2 separate regions of the Homo sapiens genome follow, and region 2 is linked to region 1. Evidence: promoter capture Hi-C in 16 types of primary human blood cells and fetal thymus (Javierre and others, 2016). All regions are on one chromosome and are shown on one strand. Each heading gives the region's core, a stretch centred on a gene start or on the middle of the fragment in contact. The rest is flanking DNA. Distances are from core to core; before and after follow the strand shown. Region 1 holds the start of INPP4B (inositol polyphosphate-4-phosphatase type II B). Region 2 overlaps INPP4B (inositol polyphosphate-4-phosphatase type II B).

Region 1 (2,916 bases), core at 412-2,911:
CTGTGCATAGTATGTGAACTGACAATGCCCACTTGCCCAGTCCTTGCTTTACTCAACTTCTTACACATCATCAGCCAGCTGCCCTGTTGATGATTCCTTGCACCTTATGCGCTGCTTTATCATTGAGTCAGATTACTACCATTTCTGGTCCAGAACTCATTAAGAAAAGTCCTTTTTCAAGCAAGGTCTTTGAAATGTAGTTGTACACCTATAAAAGAACTATCTGGAGCTCATCTTGAGAGAGAGAAGATGAATTTATCCTCTGTCTTTAGGCTTTTACTTACAGAGCCACACCTTTATAAACAAGTTCTGTCTGTCATACTGACAGGAAGGAGATATGCAAAATGTAACATCTGGAGTCATAAAATATAATGACCTCAAATAACATTCCAGAAAGAGAAAGGAAAACTAGTTCTGGTTAGGGAGAAGATAAAAGAGGAAAAGGAGTAAATTTACATCCTTAAAACAAGAGTAATAGAAAACCCTACCGGGTTTTTCCAGTAAGTTTTGTGCAGCAGCAGCAACAACCTAATCAATATGTGCTTCCTCACCCTCTTGTCCCCAAAGAGAAACTGCTGGGCCCCTCTCCACCGACTCCCCAGGAGCAGAAACTACTGCCCCCAAGGAAGGGAGAATTCAGAAGCGTGGGGAGGGGGAAAAACAGGTATATGTGGTTCTAGCATCCTCATCTTCATATCAGCTACCAGCCTGAAACTACATTCAGGAACCAGGCTCCCAGACATTCCCCGGCCCTGGGCCCTGCCTGAGCGCCAGAGAGCTTGAGGAGCCTGCAGCATAGTTCTCAGACCCGAAACAATGACCTCCCCCGTCCAAACCCAGGCACTCTTGCGCCAAGGCCCTAACCTCTCAGCGAGACCTCTTTGGGGAAGGACAAGAGATGCTGCCTGATGGCCGAGAGAAGACATGCCAGGCTTCTCTGCCAGAATGAGTTGTTGAGGGTGGGATGAAGGTGGTCAAGGAGATGGGCTCTTTATTTTTAAAACAAAAAACAAGGCAACCGGGACCACCAACATCAGTCACCCTCACTCCCCACCACTGCCTCTATTCCTTAAGGACTTCTTCCCAGGCCGGCGGCGGCGGCGGCGGCGGCGGCGGCAGCTTGCGATCATCAGGATTGGAAGTGAGAGCGAGTGCCCGGGCCAACCTCAGCGTCTCTCAGGGACAGCGCAGGTGGGCGCAGCCTTGGAAGGTCAGCGAGGCCAGAGCTCAGAGTTCCACGGGGGCCCGGAGAGTGTGCGTGTGTGAGTGAGAATGCGAAAACGCGCGCGCGCCGGGCAGAGGGGCGCTCGGCGAGAGGGTAGGCGCGGTGACAGGGGTACCCCAGCAGCCGAGGAGAGACAGCCCACCCCACCCTTTAAGCTAAAGAGCTGGAGGGGTGATGGAGGCTGCAAGACGGAGAAACTTGATGCAAAACAGACAGGCTCCCCCCTCCAAGACGTGCCGCCACGCTCTCAGACACGCTCCCTCGCCTCCCGGATTACCCACCATCAACCACCCCACCCTGCAAAATTCCCCCACCGAGCCCTAGGATCCCAGGCGGGTAATTACCTCTCCCGGAGGCGGAGTGGGGGGCGGCAGCAGCAGCAGACACTTTTAGCCTGACTTTCCTGCGTTCGCTTGCGAGCGTGTGAGCGTGTGCGCGCCCAGGAGGAGCTGTAACCTGCTATTTATAGACCGAAGCCTCAGTACCCGGGGCTGAGAACCCGGAGGAAACTAGCAGGCGGCGGCGACGGCGCAGGGCGCCGGCCGCGGCTTCGCGAGGCTCCAGCAGCTCCCCCAGCCTCTGGCTTCGGCCGCGCTCCCTGCTCGCTCCTCGCCTACCAGCCCCGCGCGCGCCCCAGAGAAGTTGTCACCAGCGCGGCTGGCTCTCCGGCTGCTCACACGCCCCCTGGCACAATTGCTACTTTCTTCCACCCCAACCCCCACCCTCCCCGCTCCTCTTCCTCCTCCTCTGCTCTCTCCAAGCGGTCTCCTCCCAATGTCACCAGCGACCGAGTAGAGGCGGCCGTGGCAGCGACAGTCGCGCAACTGGCGCTGCTCGCTTCCCGCTACTGATAGAGCGGAGATGGTGGCCCGGCTGCCCACCCCGAAATTACCACGCTGGCTCCGTGTGCTCACACCCCGTACCCCGACCCCTTTCTGCGGCCCCTCTGCCCGCTGGGTCGCCCACCCAGACTGGGCTGTGGGATCACCGCTACCGCGACGAGGGGGGACCCGAGGCCGCCACGCTGCTGCGGGGGCAGGAGAAACCACAGAGAAAGAACCCGCGGGAGGAAGAAAGCGCCCCAGACCCCGGCCTATGGCAGCGCAGTCCCTAGACCGAGGGTTTTTGGAAGGGGCTTGGGATCCCTGCTGTCACTGCCTGCGTCTAGGCATCCATTCACGCCTGCTGGACCCCAGTCTGCAGCCGCGCTGGGACCCCTGTCTCTTGCCCCTCCTCCCCCTTGCCCCGGGCAGAGGTCGGGCTGAGGAGACCAGCTTAGAGCAGCCCTCGGCCACCCACCGCCAGTTCCCACGTCGCGGCGGGTGACTGAGGCCGAGATGCTCCCAACTAGCGTATGACATGCCTTTGATATCCCGGGTGCGTGGGGACAAATCCGCCCTGAATGTGTTGGGGTATCAGGAAAACGGGGTATGTAAGCAAGCAGTCTGGACGGAGACTAAAACTCCCCCACTTCCTAGCCCCTAACAAGCCCACAGGGGAAAGCACGCACCCTGGTTATTCCGGGCTGTGTAGGGTGTGGGGCAAATGACTCTCCCCATCTGCGCTTTACAGGTGCCACCTGGCGGCTCTCTCGGAAAGGTTTTGATGGAGCCGTTCAAAGGTAAAGGTGCCCAGAGCCAGCCCATCAAGACACCCCAGCCCTTCTCCCTGAGGGCGCTTTAAAATCACAT
Region 2 (2,944 bases), core at 404-2,903, 620 kb before region 1:
TTCTAAGTACAATAGAAAAAATACACATGCAATTTTATAATAAAAATAAATTTTAAATATACAATTAGAGATAATATTTGAAAAATATATATCATGAAATATATACTGAATATATACTAAATATACAAGTAGCTCTTGTAAGTCAAAAGGAAAAATAGGAATATCCCAGTTTCCACATAAGCATTTATGTGTATTTGTGTGGATATTTGTAATAAATATATAGATAAATGTTCAACCACACAGGTAATCAAAAACTATAATTTTAAAAAGTAATAAGAGTTTAAGTTTTGCCTATGTAATTGATGGAAGTAAAATTGATGCAAACTTTTTAGAGGCAAGCTGAAATATAAAACCAAGGCCCTAAAATACATACACACTTTGTCTCAGTAATTTCACTTATTGTATTTAAACCTAGAGAATACTGAAGATGTACACGAATATGTATTTATAAGGTTTTCTACATTTAATTTATTTATATAATATGTTTAATATATATTGATGTATAATATAAATTTAAGCAACAATTTATATTTCCCTTATGGAGCAGTTCTATGACAGAACATCATATGACCATTACAAATCATACTGTAGGGAACCATTTGTGAAGGATGTCAGAATATACATGATAAACGGGGAAAAATAAAGTTATAAAATGAAGCATAGTGTGATTCTCAATAAAGTATTTAGATTCCTATATAAAATATACAGCACTATTAATACATGAACTATATAAGGCTTTGACAATGGTGCCTTATTCAAGATGATAGATAAGCCATTTGTGGTACTGATAGTGGAAGGTGGTAGGTAGATGAATACCGCCCTGCTTTCCACATGGCCGGTGAATGGTGTATAAGAAATCTAAAAGATTATACACATCCCATTGAGGGCTTACGGAAGTCCTGAAAATGCCAATGTTTTGATAGAGGCATATGATCAGGACCAAGCAACTCTCAAGTGCAGGCACCTCAAGATCAGATGCAAGGAAGTACAAATAGAGATGCCAGAATATCACTCAAAAGCCAGATGAAGCTAATGCATCTCCATGATTATCGGTCATCCCATAATAGAAACTCCTAGGCATCCAAATAATACTACAAGGAATCAAGAATCCCTTTGTTACTGATGCTATGAAGACATAGTAAGCTGACCTCATTTACCTGTATATTTTTGGGGGGATAGGGAAGAAGGAAAGTAAAATTCTAAATTACTGCTAATTTTTCTAAAAAGATAGAGTCATCCAAACTTTTTAAACCAAGCCTGAGGAGAAGCTAAATTTTGAACAGACTTTGATATTTAGATGGGAAGTAAGCTATTTAAACTAGAAGAAACCAAGGTACCACTAACTGGCAAGTCTAAATAGCCTAGACTACTTGTAAGGGTTCGTGTATTCATTTTATTTTTCTGTGAAACAAATTACTACTCTAAATCCATCACCAAGAAATAACCATTGTTCATATGTTAGTATACTTCCTTCTAGTCTTTTTAATGTATTAAATTAAAATATTTTTAACTGATTAGTAGCCTATAGTTTTATTTAACATTATACAAAGAATCACAGATGTATACCTAATATAACTCAGATGTGCAGGAAAAATTAAGGATGATAACAGAGAGTGATGGTCACAGGAAACAAACCTCTCTCTACCACAGCGAGGCTCATGAAGATGACAGTAGATGTAGAAAATAAAAACAAGGCCGGGAGCGGTGGCTCACATCTGTAATCCCAGCACTTTGGGAGGCTGAGGCAGGTGGATCACCTGAGGTGGGGAGTTCGAGAACAGCCTGACCAACATGGAGAAACTCCATCTCCACTAAAAATACAAAATTATCTGCACGTGGTGGCGCTTGCCTGTAATTCCGGCTACTTGGAGGTTGAGGTAGGAGAAACACTTGAACCCAGGAGGCGAGGTTTTGGTGAGCCGAGATCACACCATTGCACTCCAGCCTGGGCAACAGTAGTAAAACTCCACCTCAAAAAAAAAAAAAAAAAAAAAGAAAAGAAAAACAAAATTGCCTTCCTTGGTGTGGATTTGAAGTGATTTTATCTTTTCTCTTTTATAAATTTTCTATATTTTTACTATTTCACATAGTGAGCATGTATTATTTTCATGGCAAAAACTCAATATACATTTTATATATCTGTAACTGTGGCTGCAGGAGCAAAGAATCAGAAAATTACTAAGCCCCCATATGAGCCTTTCTTCACAGCAGTAAACAACTTGAGAGATATCTAACATTTCCTCCTTGTGAATTTTTTTGGAACTAAACCATAATATTAAAAAAGTATAGTGTTATGAGAACACTTCACCGCCAATTCAAAAACTGCTATGTTTCAAACTTGAATTCAGAAGGTGTTAATGCTTAAGCCAATTGAAGGGAGCCCCCAAAGGATTTAAAGTGTATCACAACCCTGAGACTTTGTGTATGTACCATCTCAAATTTAATAAAAACAGTTCATGTTGAGTCCAAATGTCACACTAACTGTGAGACTAAGAGACTAACAGCAAGTGTGTTTTTTGATGGCAGCTGCAGGCAAGACAGACACTATGTGCAAGTGATGCAAAAGCAGTTGCTGCGCCGTTATGTCCCTGCCAACATTTCCACTCAATGTCAGGATTGGCTGCAAAGAATAACTTCCTCCATTCTCAATTTTACATATGTGTATGCTTTACACAAATAAGCAAACAGTGCACATATACGTGATTTCTGCAAACAAGACTCACACGGACTTATGCTTTCAGGTATACACCAACTTTAGATGTGTGAAAGTTAATAATATACTTTAATGTTATGAGTGGGATTTCATTCTCGCTGATTTAAAAAAATTATGAAACCACTAATAATATCTTGTTTGTAATATATAGTTTGACTATATATTTAGACGTTTCTATATAACATTTTCTTAATTCTATTCCTTTGCTATTTTCCTTCACAAGTAAATCCA

What was found. Contacts are between HindIII fragments. The CHiCAGO score rates a contact against its expected background, and 5 or more counts as called.
Region 2: a fragment that was not itself captured here is called in contact with the fragment with the promoter of INPP4B in region 1 in 1 of 17 cell types (non-activated CD4 T cells); the score reaches 6.8 in non-activated CD4 T cells.

What each region holds. Positions count from the first base shown.
Region 1 is chr4:142,844,640-142,847,555 of GRCh38, forward strand. It overlaps INPP4B (inositol polyphosphate-4-phosphatase type II B), which reads right to left and starts at 1,662. Exons shown (of 26, transcript NM_001101669.3): 1 at 1,570-1,662. All of the region lies in intron 3 of USP38-DT (USP38 divergent transcript), which reads right to left. RefSeq lists an enhancer at 2,419-2,916. The HindIII fragment of the contact is 4,051 bases long and covers 1-2,916 here.
Region 2 is chr4:142,228,671-142,231,614 of GRCh38, forward strand. All of the region lies in intron 12 of INPP4B (inositol polyphosphate-4-phosphatase type II B), which reads right to left. Among named protein-coding and RNA genes, the nearest start is that of IL15, 590 kb to the left of the region's middle. The HindIII fragment of the contact is 6,725 bases long and covers 1-2,944 here.